Linked DNA regions of Homo sapiens: region 2 is linked to region 1. Evidence: promoter capture Hi-C in human tissues and cell types (Jung and others, 2019). All regions are on one chromosome and are shown on one strand. Each heading gives the region's core, a stretch centred on a gene start or on the middle of the fragment in contact. The rest is flanking DNA. Distances are from core to core; before and after follow the strand shown. Region 1 holds the start of ZNF287 (zinc finger protein 287). Region 2 has its middle 7.8 kb from the start of CCDC144A.

Region 1 (7,555 bases), core at 1,630-4,129:
ATATCAAGGGAAGGCAATGGAAGCACCTTTTCTTTATAGTACATTCACCTACCTTAACAGACCAAGATAACATAGGAGAGAAACTGGGGCTTAAGTCCTTGATAGAGCTTCTGGGGGCACAGTAGTTATAGGGCCAGGTCAGAAAATGTCCTCACACACTAAGAAGGCATTTTAAAATCAGAAAAGACAGTCACACTCACTTTGGTCACCAAGTCATTTAGCCATCCTGTCTGGAAAGCATGTTTTCCTCTGGGGTCTTCCTCTGGGGTATCTTGGGAAAGGGTAGAGTTTTGAGGAGCTAGAGAAGAGAAAGAGGTCATGAGGGAGATTAGTCCTTTCTGAATAGCCTAGGAAACCCCTCACCAAATAGATGCCTACACTTTCTTAAATCGAGAAGTAAGAAGGAAATCAAAAACAGCACTCCTACTTCAAAGCATCAGAGGAAAGGGCCAATGACTTGTCCTAAGACATCAAAACAGACTTCAAAAACAAGCTCGCTCTAAAAATCTTAAAGAGTATGAACAAAATTCACATTTTAACTAAATCCTTATGTGATATTAATTTTGTGAGTTATCTCTTAATAAGGGAATGTTCTCTAGACCCTTTCTTCCTTTTTTGGAAGTATTTTATTGTAAAATTCAATTCACAAAGCAAATGATTTATTAGTAGAATGGTGCAAACCTCTGAAGGTACTTTCTGAGGGCTCACACAGTGGTAATTTGGTTGCGTCTGGTCATTATTTCAAGACGTTTTTCTTGGGGGTTTAGATAATGTGTGTTTGCTCCCAAGCAATCTGGAAGGAGAACACCATGCAGGATGGAGCTCATGTTAAAGCCTTGTTCTCACTCACTAACCTTTGTTCTCCCCAGTTTCTTTCTTTTTAAAAAATGCATCCTGGACCTCTCAGTGCTCTCCCTGATTTCTTTAAAGGAGCTGCTCAGATGTGCTAGTTGTCTTCTTTAACCACCCAGGGATTCCTCCCCTCTCTGCTCTATGATTCTCACCTTCCTCTTCTAGAATCTGAGTCAAATCCTCCACCAGAGTCACTGCTTCCTCGCTGCTCTCTGGATACTGGGACTTTACCCAAGTCCTAACCTCACCAGGCAGGATGGTCAGGAATTGCTCCAGCACCAGCAGCTCCAAAATTTGTTCCTTTGAGTGAATCTCAGGTCTCAGCCACTTAAGGCAGAGCTCTCGGAGTTGACTCAATGCCTTTCGAGGACCAGCCAGGTCTGGGTATGGAAAATTCCTAAAATTCTGTCGACAGGTCTCAGTGTCACGCAAGAATCTTGAAGTAAGGATTTCCTTCTCAACATTGTAGGGTCCACTCTGAGCCTTGTCTGACTTCCACCTTAGAAGGATTTGAGAACGTGAAGAACTGTTCATCCTCTTGCTTGAGGCTAACATTGCTACAGACAGGAGAGTCAATCTGGCAATATCCTTTATTTCTCCAGTAGTGAGCCAACTGCTTGAAGTCTCATGCTAGAGTCACAAGGACACTATATCAAAGGCTGCTGCAGCCGAGGGCAGAACAGAATCAAGGTAGAGTTAGCAGCCTTAGTGACAAATTCTGAGCCCAGAACTTGCAGGGATGGATAAGAGACCCTGAAACACAAGCATGGACCACAAGGTCAAGAATCCCTGGTGTACTCTACTATACATATACACACACAGAAACAGACTCGCAGTGTGCATAGATGAACACACATAAGCTTTACCTTGTCTTCCTCCCCTATATCCTTAGACTTGTAAGGGAACTGCCATCTGCTTGGGGTTGGTGGGGGATGGAGCTGCTATTAAAAAGGTAGTGTCAGAGGCAATGACTCGAATCTAAGCCAAACAACAGATTAAACCTCTAACCTGTTGTAACAAAAATTAAACATTTTTATAGAGAAAATAGTTTCATTATTTTAGTCACTGATGTTACAGAAGCTGTAATGACTGAACGGACTCTCAACAATAACAAAGTGAATCTGTTACTTGGAAGAAACTAGGAGAATTTCTTCTTAATACAGTGCTCAAGGTTCCCAAGGGAACTGTCAGGGGAAAGGGCGAGCCATTTATCTGCGTTGCATGTTAATGCCAGCCGATTCTAGCCTTTCACTATCAGAGGGTTGGGAAGACCAGCGGGTTGGACTGGAAAAGAGTGAAGAGGTTGGTGTGACTTCAAGTCCTTTAAGTGCTTCTATAGGAGACAGTTCTTTAGGGATATATTCGAAACCAGGATTCTCGAAGGAAACCTTAGAACCGGCCTGATCTGGAGGAGAACCGACACCACCTCTCCCCAGGCTCCAGCTCCGAGCCCTGCTGAGGCACAGTCGTGCCACCAAAGACAACTGTTTACAAGGCCCTGCGGAGGTGATGCGACAGCCTTGCCTTGCCTCCTGTCGCCTCCCCTTCCCGGCCAAGTCCCTCTGCCTCTTACTCCTCTTCAGCCGCAGGGTCGAGGTCGAGGGCAGCGGGGGAGTCGGGGACCGTGCGACGCGCAACGCTGGGACTGGGCCCACAGCAGCCTCCACCCCGTCTTTGCCCTCCCGCAAGCCACGAGCACGGGAGCCCGCGCGTGGACGGGCTCGGGCTGTCACTGATCGCGCGGACACTCGCGCGCTGCGCCCGGACATCAATACCTGTCGCTGGGACCCGGCCGACGGGCAGCCGGAGCGGCCCTAAGGCCACAGGCAACAATGGCGACGCTGGCACAGGCGCCTGCGTGGCGGGCTCAGTCCCGAGCGGCAGCGGATCCTCGGGCTCCGCCACTTCCCTTCCCCGCAAAGCACAGAGTGTCCCGGCCAGGAGCTGCACGTTCCAGCCCGGTCCTGAGAAGCCCGGCCCAGAAACCCCGGCGCCTCTGCTTAGCCGCGACCTCGCCTCGGCGTCACTGCGCATGTGCGCCAGAGGAACGCTGCGCGCCCGCAGAGCCAATCGGAGCCCAAGCTGCCGCCTCCCCCTCCCGCGCCTCTGGCCCTGGACCTGTCTCCATGGCAACCTCCTCCACCCATCGCTCTGACTTGCTTGTCAGCCTGCGAGGTTCCGAAGGGAACTTCAAAGTTTCCCCGGGCAGACGCAGGTCTGGTAGACGTCTTGGAGGCCAGGGAGGTGCCAGTAGCTGGAGGAGCGCCGGGAGTTGAAGCCCCGCGCCAACTACGCAGAGAAAACTGGGCGCCAGATTTCCTAGAGGAAGAATGGGCAGGGAAGATGTGGGTCTAAAGGCAGAAAGACTTAATGTGCGGTTTCGGGCTTTACTGTGCATACATACTAACTGTGAAAGGTTTTCACTTCCTCCTCAGGAATTTGATTCTGAGACTCTCAGATTGGGGGAAAAAAACCCATGTTCTTTCTTTCTTTCTTTTTTTTCTTTTGAGACGGAGTCTCGCTCTGTCGCCCAGGCTGGAGTGCAATGGTGCGAGCTCGGCTCACTGCAACCTCCGCCTCCTGGGTTCAAGTGATTCTCCTGTGTTCAAGTGATTCTCACTTGAACTTCCTGGGTTCAGCCTCCCGAGTAGCTGTTATTTCTAAGAGACACAAAACAAAAATACATAAAACACTGGAAAAATAAAAGCATAGAAAAACATATTCAAGGTGTTCCCGTTATCTACTGTTCTATTAACAAACCACCCCAAAACTTAGTGGTTTTGAAGGACAATCACCGTATTATGCTCATAAATTTCATGGTGAGGAATTTGAAAGGGGAACTGAGTGGGTGGGCCTTTGCCTCATTATGTCTGTAGCCTCTGTTGGGATGATTTGATGGCTGGGAGGGCCCGCTTCCAAGATGGCTTTTCCACTCACATGTCTACTGCTTGGGAGGAGATGGGCTAAAAGATGAACTCGGCTTGTGTTTGACCAGAGTGCCTCAATGTGGTCTCTCCAGCATAAAGGACTGAGGGCAGCTGGACTTGTTACATGGTGGCTCTGGGCTCCAAGAGTGAGCATTCCAGTGAACAAGAGAGAAGCGCCATGGCCAATTATAACATGGCCTTGGAAGTCACCTAACACCAATTCTGTCAGACTCTTGGTCAAAGCAATCACAAGCCTACAGAGAATCAAATGGAGGCAGAATCCTGTGAGGGTGGAGGAGGACTGTCAAAGACTCTTAATATCACCACACCAGGAAAATTTTAACAAAAAGAAAGTTGGACCGGGCGCGGTGGCTCACGCCTGTAATTCCAGCACTTTGGGAGGCCCAGGCAGGTAGATCACCTGAGGTCAGGAGTTTGAGACCAGCCTGGCCAACATGGTGAAACTCCGTCTCTACTAAAAGAACAAAAATTAGCCTGGTGTGGTGGCGCACGCCTGTAATCCCAGCTACTCAAGAGGCTGAGGCAGGAGAATCACTTGAACCTGGGAAGCGGAGGTTGCAATGAGCTGAGATTTTGCCACTGCACTCCATGTACTCCAGCCTGGGCGACACGAGCAAGACTCCATCTCAAAAAAAAAAAAAAACAAACTTGGGGAGTGTGATGGTCTTTTGATGTGTCAACTTGGCTAGGCTACAGTCTCTTGCTATTTAAGTAAACACGAATCTAGGTGTTGCTGTAAAGGCATTTTGTAGATGAGATTGAAGCCCATAAACCCAGTTGGACTAAGTAGCATGGGAGATTATCCTAGATAATTTGGGTGGGCCTGATTCAATCAGTTAAAAGCTTTCAAAAAAGAACCGAAGTTTCCCTGATGGAGAAGAAACTCCATCAGCGTACCACAGCTTCCAGCCTGCCCTTCCTGATGGGGTGCTCTTATGGACTTTGGACTCACCTGGTCACCCCCTCAATCGAGTAAGCCAACTCTTTGCCACAAGTATCTTAAATATCTACTGGTTCCGCTTTTTTGATTGAACCCTGACTGATACAAGTAATAATTCTAATATCTGATAAGCTAGAATTTGAGAAGATTAAAAGGGAATAAATAAGAGTGCTTGATGGAAAAGATATATTTATCATAAATATACAGCATGTCCCTAACACTAAGGCCTCAAAACATACAAAGCAATAGCTGACATACCTGTAGGGAGGAAAACATAAACCAACAACCAAAGCTGGAAACTTAATACGCCCTATAGTGCACACTGTGGTGCTGCCAGGATCCTCCTTCAGGGTTGAGGCATCCATCCCAGCAGCTGCCGGGTGAGTGGCTGCTGATGGCTCACAGCAAAATACTTCCTTGGGAGTTGTCCTAACTGCAGGGGGCTGCCTCTCACAAGTCACGTCTTCTCCCCGGGGGAAGTCCATATCCAAAGACTGCTCAGTGCAGGCCTCAAAGACCTGGCCCCCTGTCTTCAACTTGCAGCCTCTATAAAGGGCCATCTTGGCTTAAGAGTTCCCTGTGAGACCAACTGAGGCCTCTGTTGCAGTCATACAGCATTTAAACCTATTACTCTGTCCAGTTATCCTTATATCACTCCTGTACAGGCATTTTTTCTAGAGAACACTACCCAGTAATTACCTTGTATGCAATTCTCCATCTCAGAATCTATTTATAGGGAATCTGCCCTACACCAGTTGGTACCAGCAGTTGTTCCAAGAACGCAAACTCTAAAATGGAATTTTTTTCTTTTTGAGGTGGGGTCTTGCTCTGTCGCACAGGCTGGAGTGTAGTGGTGCAATCTCAGCTTACTGAAACCTTTGCCTCCCGGGTTCAGGCAATTCTCTCTGCCTCAGCCTCCTGAGTAGCTGGGATTACAGGCACCCACCACCACACCCGGCTAATTTTTGTATTTTTTAGTAGACACTGGGTTTCGCCATGTTGTCCAGGCTGGTCTTGAACTCCTGACCTCAGGTGATCTGCCTGCCTTGGCCTCCCAAAGTGCTGGGATTACAGGCATTAGCCATAAAATGGAATTTTGAAACTGTGTTACCTGCCACCTAGCTGACAATGAGGGAGGGCCCTATGACTTGTGATTGGCAGAGTAGTGATAATGATAGCATATGTCAGGTTGTAGCAAAGTAATTGTTAAAATTGTCAGTGGTGTTGAACTGGGGTGGAATGTTGACAGAAGGGAACGCACTGGTGGGTGCTATATCTCAGATCTTTATAACACTGGGGGAAGTGGTAATTCTAGAGATGATGGAATTGAATGGCTATTACCAGGAGCTATTGACAATGACGGTGATTAGTGACAAATTAATTGAAAATGTGAGCGTCAGAAGACTTCTTTGAAGCCTGACAGCAAAACAGCTGAGAATCAGGCCCTAACTTCAGCTAAGTTTGAATTCTAAATCCCAGCAAGTTTGCTATGCCAAGGTCAGGATCCTGCTGGGAAGGAGTAGAACTCTGAGATTTGGGATGGGGACATTTTGATTTGTGCATGCAAACACCTTCAAACACCAATCACTCTGAATTTCTCAGGCTTGCTAAAGTGGCCCACTCCTCCAAGTCTAAAGCTAGGGCTCTGCCTTGCTTGAAGATGATGCAGACTGAGGCCTCTACATTGCAATACAACCCGTGCCCCCTCAGGATCTACCTACCCTTTCCTCTCCCTACCCCATCCACTAGACCAATAACTAGAATTAAGTCACCAAAAAAACCCAACAGGGGAAATTCTGGGCATGATAAGAGAGGAAAAGAACCATCCTCTGAAGTTACTACAGGCCCTAGTTTATATGTATCTGTAGGAACCAGGACAGTATGTATGAGACTGGACCCTGAGGATGCTGGATCAAGAAGGTAAAACATATATTAGAGTACCAGAGAGTTTATTGAAAAGGAGCACATTCCTGGCCAGGCACAGTGGCTCATGCCTGTAATCCAAGCACTTTGGGAGGCTGAGGCAGGCGGCTCACCTGAGGTCAGGAGTTCGAGACCAGCCTGGCCAGCATGGTGAAACCCTGTCTCTAGTAGAAATACAAAAAATTAGCCAGGCGTGGTGGCAGGTGCCTGTAATCTCAGCAACTCAGGAGGCTGAGGCAGGAGAATCGCTTGAACCCGGGAGGTGCAGGTTGCAGTGAGCCGAGATTGCACTGTTGTACTCCAGCCGGGGCAACAAGAGCGAGGTTCTGTCTCAAAAAAAAAAAAAAAAAAAAAAAAAAAAAAAGAAGAAAAAGAAAAGAAAAAGAAAAAAGAAAGAAAGAAAGCACACTCCTGTGATACGGGACTTAAACACTCTGGCAAGGATGCTAGGAGATGGGGATTAGAGAAATTTAGAGAAATACATGGCTCATGTTAAGCAGAAAATGTCAGAATTGCTTGACAAAAGGTAAAATAAGAAGTTAAAAGGTTCAGGGAACTGGGCATACTAGAATAGGTAGAGTATGTAAGGCTGAAATACCAGCTGTCTATGTTTCATCAGAAAGTCTGGAAGATCATCTGCTGCGATAAAGAATGTGCTAGAGAGAGGCACCAGCATCATTGAGAAACTCTGTGGTAGCTGTCCTCTGCAGGCTGAGGCTGACAGTAGGGGATTTGTTACAAGACTGGGCCTCCCTGAGGATGGCTCCAGAAATAAGGTGAGCTCAATTCACATAATGAGCAGTAAGATTAAAGTGGAAGATGGGGAGAGGGAAAGGGGAAGAGGGGCTTTATCTTCAGAGAACTTTCGAGGAGATTAATAGAACATAGTGTC
Region 2 (7,555 bases), core at 3,504-6,003, 110 kb after region 1:
CAGCTCACTGCAGCCTTGACCTCCTGGGCTGTGGCAATCGTGCCATCTCAGCCTCCCAAGTAGCTGGGACTATAGGCATGTGCCACCAAGCCTGGCTAATTTGTTTTTTTTTTTTTTTTTTTTTGGTCGGAGTTTTGCTCTTGTCGCCCAGGCTGGAGTGCAATGGCGCAATCTTGGCTCATGTCAACCTCTGCCTTCCGGGTTCAAGCAATTCTCCTGCCTCAGCCTCCCAAGTAGCTAGGATTACAGGCGTGTGCCACCACGCCCGGCTAATTTTGTATTTTTAGTAGAGGGCGGGTTTCTCCATGTTGGTCAGGCTGGTCTCAAACTCCCAACGTCAGGTGATCCGCCCGCCTCGGCCTTCCAAAATGCTGGGATTACAGGCGTGAGCCACTGCGCCCTGCATTGTCTTTTTTTGTTGTTGTTTTTGTAGAGATGGCGGGGGGGGGTCTCACTTTGTTGCCCAAGCTGGTCTTGAACTCCTGGCCTCAAGTGATTTTCTCCATCTTTGTCTATCACCATTGCATCAATGTTTGTGTTATCCTATAAAATTTAGAAGGCCTAGAAGGATGTTTTTGCTTTTTGCAATATAAAAATGGCCTAACACAGACATAGATGATATAGATATGGATAGGTAGGGGGTGTATTTTGAAATTTGTTTCTCTAAGGGACTTATTTCACTTCAAATTTGAAATTATTCTGGTTTTAAATGTAACAAATGATAAACCTTATAGAATGACAACACAATTGTATATGTTATAAAGGCACAGGGTATATCAAATGATGAACCAATCATTTCGTGTTGAGGTTAGTAATTTTTTTTTTTTCCTGAGACCTCAATTCTCGGTAAATGAGGACAGCTTTTACACAGAGGGGCCTTAACACCACCACACACTGGACTTGTTCTCGGGCTGTGAGGTTCTGCCCACACCAAGCCAGGATGAGAATTTTATTCTTCACACTGTTCTCAGTACTTGTTTATATCCCCCCAAAAGTTCATTTTTTATGCTGTTTGTTCTCTCACATTTAATACATGTAAAAAAAGTTATCATGGTTTTTAAAATAAAAAAGTATGTTATCTTTTAATCTATGTCCCTATAGAATTATCTTGATCCATGTACTTTTGTTGTTACAGGCAGATCAGGCTAAACTTCCTCTCTCTGGAATAAATGCCATGACCACTGCTCTTTGAGCATTATTTTTCTTAAATTATTTTTTAAACAAAAATTAATCTAACTTACATTAACCAAATTTCTTTTCAAAGTAATCACATTTCTTTTAAGTGAAAAATGTTTACCTTCTGTTATAAAGAATTCTCTGAATACAAAATATTTATTTTTTTTAAACTTTAGAAGAAATTGAAAATATCTACATATTACTAATCTAAAAATACAGGCTCTGGGTTTATATGGTGTTAACATGTCTTCCAAATTTTAAGGAATAAGTATTTAAATGCCATGCGCTTTGTTTTCCAATTTAGAAAATGTTCCAACCTTTTGGCTGGGCATGGTGGCTCATGCCTATAATCCCAGCACTTTGGGAGGCCGAGGTGGGAGGATCACTTAAGTCCAGGCATTCGAGACCAGCCTGGGCAACATGGTGAACCCCATCTCTCCAAAAAATTACAAAAATTGGCCAGGCATGGTGGCACTACCTGTAGTCCCAGTTACTTAAGAGGCTGAGATGGGAGGATTGCTGGAGACAGAAAAATTGAGGCTGCAGAAGGTAAAGTGTTGAGGCTAACAGATGGTAAAGATTTAATTTTTCACTTAAAAGAAATATTGGTTACACTGAAATTTGGTTGATGTAAGATAGATAAATTTCTGTTAAAAAAAATTTAAGTGAGTCTTGTTAACACCACTGCACTCCAGCCTGGGCAACAGAGCAAAACCTGAAGAAAGAAAGAAAGAGAGAGAGAGAAAGAAAGAGAGAAAGAGAGAGAGAGAAATAAAGAAAAAGGAAGGAAGGAATGAGGGAAGGAAGGAAGAAAGGGAGGGAGGGAGTGGGGGAGGGAGAGACAGAGAGAGAGAGAAAGAAGGAAGAAAAAAGGAAGGAAATAAAACAAAAAAAAAATGTTTCAAGCTCTACAGTAGCAAAGCCACTCTGTAATGAACAAACAACAGAACCAAAACAAAAAAGGATTCTACCGACCAATCTAACCAACAATACAATTATGAAGTTGATTCAAATATCAAAAATCAATTTTAATAATAACTATATGGTATGAAAACCCCACAAAGATCAAGTAGGATGTATTATACTTGAATGAATTTATGAGTTGAGAGTAGGAAATCTATAAATTTAATCAAACCAGTCTAAGAATCATGAGGAAATTGTACTGCTAATGTATTATTTGACAAGCCATTCAGTGGAACAAAGATATTCTTAATGAAGTTGCATATATATTTTAAAATGTTATCGAGGTAGATTTTTAAAAATGAGATGAATAACTTGAAAAAGTATTCAGGGATAAAGAGAAAAATAAATTTAGATAGTTTACATATATAAAATATATTTTAAAAGCTAGGCTTGTCTTTTTTTATTCCTTAAATAAAAGGAATGGATATTTAAATCCCATGCCTTTCATTTTAAAATTTAGGAAATGCTTACAGCTTCCCACACTGAAATCTATACTAACACAGCTAATCTAATCAATGGATAACAAAATCAAAACAAATGGAAATCTCTTGACCAATCTATTTTCTTGATTTTTGAAAGTCTAAATGTATACTCAAAGAAAGAAAACTATTAATAATTGATTCTGTTATTTGAAAACATTTATTGATCATTTACCTTACACTAAGTGATCTCCAGCTCATGGAGACAGATCAGTGGAAAAGTATGTAAAGTTACCCAGGTTTGTTAAGCTTAAATTCTAATGAGGGAGAAAAGAAGTAATAGCGCAGGTACTTTAAAACAGGAGCGTTGGCCGGGCATGGTGGCTCACGCCTGTAATCCCAGCACTTTTGGGAGGCTGAAGCAGGTGGATCACCTGAAGTTGGGAGTTCGAGACCAGTCTGGCCAACATGGAGAAACCCCGTCTCTACTAAAAATACAAAAAATTAGCCGGGTGTGGTGGCGCACGCCTATAATCCAGCCACTCGGGAGGCTGAGGCAGGAGAATTGCTTGAACCTGGGATGTGGAGGTTGCGGTGATCCCAGATTGCGCCACTACACTCCAGCCTGGGTAACAAGAACCAAACTCCGTCTCAAAAAAAAAAAAAGTGTGTTATGATACGGCTTGGAATTCTAAAAAATTGCATACTGTGGTTGCTGTGTAGAGACTGGAATGAAAAAAAGGGCAATGATAAAAGCTTAAATTCATATAGAATATGGCTAGCCTATAATTTTGAGGGTGCCTGAAATAAGAATTTATAATAGTTCTCATTATTTCCCCCAAGAAATGTCTGCAGTAGAGCCCTGACCGTGTGAGGGAAGTAGTGTAGTTACCAAGTGGTGAGGGTGGGAAGGTGAATTTGAAAACACCATTTGGAATTACTGCACTTTAAAGGCAAAGCTGGCAGGTTTTCCATACACGACAGATCTGAAAATGGGTGTGTGTGTGTGTGTGTGTGTGTGTGTGTGTGTGTGAGATGGAGAGACAGAGAGAGAGAGAATGAGAACCAGACAGATACAGAGAGAACTAAAAGGGGATATCAAGAATATTGAGCTGAGAAACTATAAAATGGGAGTTGCCATTAAACAGATAGGGGAAGAGCAAGTCTGGGGAGTATTGGAGGCTCCATGTGGACCTTCATTTTGAGATTCCTGACTGACACCCAAGTGAAGAAGTCAGACGGTGCTGGGTGTAGTCTAGTGTTGAGGTATAATATGAAATATCAGGAAATTAATGACACAAAAATTAGTAAGAAAGTAAATAAAAGAAAGATAAGTCCAGGTCCTGAGCCTAGTGCTTCTCTAACATTTAAAAAATAGTAAAGGTGAGAAAAAAACAGCAAAAAAGGACTAGGGGTAATTATAAAAAATGTCAGGGGAAAGTGGGTTAAGTGTTCTGGAATTCTATCAAAGAAAGTTTTGCAAAAAGGACAGATCACCTGTGTCAAATGCTGCTGATACATAAATTAAGACAAAGGCTGAGGAATTATGCTTTAATTCATAATTTAACAATATGACTATCGTTTGTGCTTTGAGAAGAGCAATTTTGTTGTAGTGAGTAGGTGAGAAACCATATTGGAGTCCTTACTAAAAGGAATGTCTGATCTCTGGATTCTCTGTTTTTTTTTTTTTTTTTTTTTTTTTTTTTTTTTTTTGAGACAGAGTCTTGCTCTGTAACGCAGGCTGGAGTGCAGCGGCTCGATCTCAGCTCACTGCAACCTCTGCCTCCTGAGTTCAAGCAATTCTCCAGCCTCCTGCTTCTACTCACAGAAGCAGAGAGTAGAATGGAGGTTACCAGGGGTGGAAGGCAGGGGTTTGGGGAGACGGTGAAATCATTCAAAAGTGTAGTTAGACAGGAGGAATAAGTTTAAGAGATACATTGCACAACATGGTGACTGCAGTTAATGTATTGTATTCTTGAAAATCAAGAAGGGTTCTCACCACAAAAAGTAAGTATGCATATGTTCCTGAGCGCAATGTAATCATTCCACCATCTACCTATTTCTAAACAGGTTTTACACAACATATATACAATTTTATTTGTCATTTAAAAAACGAATGAATTGTAAAAAGAATTAAGTACTGGAAAACTTGTCACAGTTTAGGACAACTCTCTTTGTAAAATTAGTGGTTCTTGGGAGTCAAAATGCTTCCTGGTGCCGGGAGTGAGCGATGAGCCGGCTTCTGTCCCTGGCGGCAGAGTCGCCTTGGCCGCCTTGCCCTGCCGCCGCTCTCGCGGGTTCGGGATGTTCTATGCCGTGAGGAGGGGCGGCAAGTCCGCGGTCTTTCTGACCGGGAATGAGTGCAAAGCACAGGTGGACCGGTTTCCTGCTGCCAGATTTAAGAAGTTTGCCACAGAGGATGAGGCCTGGGACTTTGTCAGGAAATCTGCAAGCCCGGAAGTTTCAGAAGGGCAGGAAAATCAACATGGACAAGAATCGGAGACGAAAGCCAGCAAGCGACTCCGTGAGCCACTGGATGGAGATGGAGATGAAAGCGCAGAGCCATATGCAAGCACATGAAGCCGAGCGTGAAGCCGAGCGTGAAGCCGAGCGTGAAGCCGGCGCCTCCAGTTAGCAGAGACACGTTTTCCTACATGGGAGACTTCGTCGTCGTCTACGCTGATGGCTGCTGCTCCAGTAATGGGCGTAGAAAGCCACGAGCAGGAATCCGCGTTTACTGGGGGCCGGGCTATCCTTTAACTGTAGGCATTAGACTTCCTGGGTGGCAGACAAACCAAAGAGCGGAAATTCATGCAGCCTGCAAGGCCATTGAACAAGCACAGACTCAGAAAATCAATAAACTGGTTCTGTATACAGACAGTATGTTTACGATAAATGGTATAACTAACTGGGTTCAAGGTTGGAAGAAAAATGGGTGGAAGACAAGTGCAGGGAAAGAGGTGATCAACAAAGAGGACTTCGTGGCACTGGAGAGGCTGACCCAGGGGATGGACATTCAGTGGGCGAGTATCTTAAATGTTCATGTCCCATGGCTATTGTGACCAAATAAGCTAAGTTTACTAGAGATTAATGGTTTATGTAAGTGGTTTAATGACATAACAATTTCCATGAAGTTAATATCATAATATATATTAAAACATATTTGAGGCTGGGCGCGGTGGCTCACGCCTGTAGTCCCAGCACTTTGGGAGGCTGAGGTGGATGGATCACGGGGTCAGGAGTTCAAGACCAGCCTGGCCAGTATGGTGAAGCCCCATCTCTATTAAAGAGTACAAAAATTAGCCAGGCGTGGTGGTGTGCGCCTGTGGTCCCAGCTACTCGGGAGCCTGAGGCAGGAGAATCACTTGACCTGGGAGGCTGAAGTTGCAGTGAGCTGAGATCACGCCAGTGCACTCCAGCCTGAGCAACGATATGAGACTCTAAGACTCCATCTAAAAAAAAAAAAAAAAATTTGAGACTGGGCTCAGTGGTCCACATCTGTAACCCAGCAATTTAGGAGGCCCAAATGAGCTGACTACTTCAGCCGAGAAGTTTGAGACCAGCCTGGTTAACATGGTGAGACTCTGTTTCTAGAAAAAATAAAAAATTAGCCAGGTGTAGTGGTGCATGCCTGTAGTCTAGTTACTCAGGACGCTGAGGTGGGAGGATGACTTGAGCTGGGGAGGTCGAGGTTGCAGTGAGCCAAGATTGTACCACTGCACTCTAGCCTGGGCGACAGAGCGAGACCCTGTCACAAAAAAACAAAACAAACCCACCCATGTACATGCATTTGATTCTTTTCCTTATCATACAAGTAATACATTTTTTTGGTTTGGTTTGGTTTGGTTTTTGAGACAGGTCTTACTCTGTCACCCCAGGCTATGGCGTGATCTCATTGCAACCTCTGCCTTCTGGGTTCAAGTGATTCTCATGCCTCAGCCTCCCAAGTATCTGGGATTGCGGGCATATGCCACCACACCTGGCTGGTTTTTGTGTTTTTGGTAGCGATGGGGTTTTGTCATGTTACCCAGGCTGGTCTTGAACTCTTGACCTCAAACAATCCACCTGCCTTGGCCTCTCAAAGTGCTGGGATTACATTTGTTTTATGTCATTTATTTCTTTTCCATGCCTTTTTGCACTAGCTAGAACTTCCAACGCCGTTTTTTGTTGTTGTTGTTTTTGGTTTTGTTTTTGAGATAGTCTTGCTCTGTCACCCAGACTGGAGTGCAAATGGCGTGGTCTCGGCTCACTGCAAACTCCGCCTCCTGGGTTCAAGTGATTCTCCTGCCTCAGCCTCCTGAGTAACTGGGATTACAGGTACCTGCTACCACGCCTGGCTAATTTTTTTGTATTTTTAGTAGAGACGGAGTTTCAACATGTTTGCCAGGCCGGTCTTGAACTCCTGACCTCAGGTGATCCACCTGCCTCGGCCTCCCAAAGTGCTGGGATTACAGTCCAGTACAGTTTTAAATAGGACAAATGAAAAAGGGAATCCTTGCCTTGTTCCTGATTTTACGGGGGGAGTGGGAGTGTTTTCTGTGATTGGTTCTGTTTTTTATTTTTATTTTTACTTATTTATTTTGAGACGGAGTTTCATTCTTATTGCCCAGGCGGGAGTGGAATGGTGCCGTCTCAGCTCACTGCAACCTCCGCCTCCTTTGTTTAAGTGATTCTGCTGCCTCAGCCTCCCAAGTAGCTGGAATTACAGGCGCCCACCACCACATCTGGCTATTTTTTTTTTTTTTTTGTATTTTTAGTAGAGAGAGGGTTTCATCATGTTGCTCCTGCTGGTCTCGAACTCCTGACCTCAGATAATCCACCTGCCTCAGCCTCCCAAAGTGCTGGGATTATGGGCATGAGCCACCGAGCCCGGCTGTTTTTTTTGTTTTTTTTTTTTTTTTTTTTTGAGACAGAGTTTTGCTCTGTTGCTCAGGCTGGAGTGCCAGTGGCGCGATTTCAGCTCACTCAGGGGTGAGCCACCACACCTGGCCTGTGAT

What was found. The method cuts DNA at HindIII sites, captures the fragments that hold promoters and counts their contacts. A contact is called where the count stands out against the background at its distance.
Region 2: a fragment that was not itself captured here is called in contact with the fragment with the promoter of ZNF287 in region 1 in 5 of the 25 tissues and cell types used here (H1 embryonic stem cells, dorsolateral prefrontal cortex, liver and 2 more).

What each region holds. Positions count from the first base shown.
Region 1 is chr17:16,566,325-16,573,879 of GRCh38, forward strand. It overlaps ZNF287 (zinc finger protein 287), which reads right to left and starts at 2,880. Exons shown (of 6, transcript NM_020653.4): 1 at 2,628-2,880; 2 at 1,005-1,605; 3 at 201-298. The coding sequence starts at 1,407. RefSeq lists enhancers at 1,943-2,444, 2,445-2,944. The HindIII fragment of the contact is 5,740 bases long and covers 500-6,239 here.
Region 2 is chr17:16,678,649-16,686,203 of GRCh38, forward strand. It overlaps a transcript of CCDC144A not described here and the pseudogene RNASEH1P2. Among named protein-coding and RNA genes, the nearest start is that of CCDC144A, 7.8 kb to the right of the region's middle. The HindIII fragment of the contact is 7,976 bases long and covers 766-7,555 here.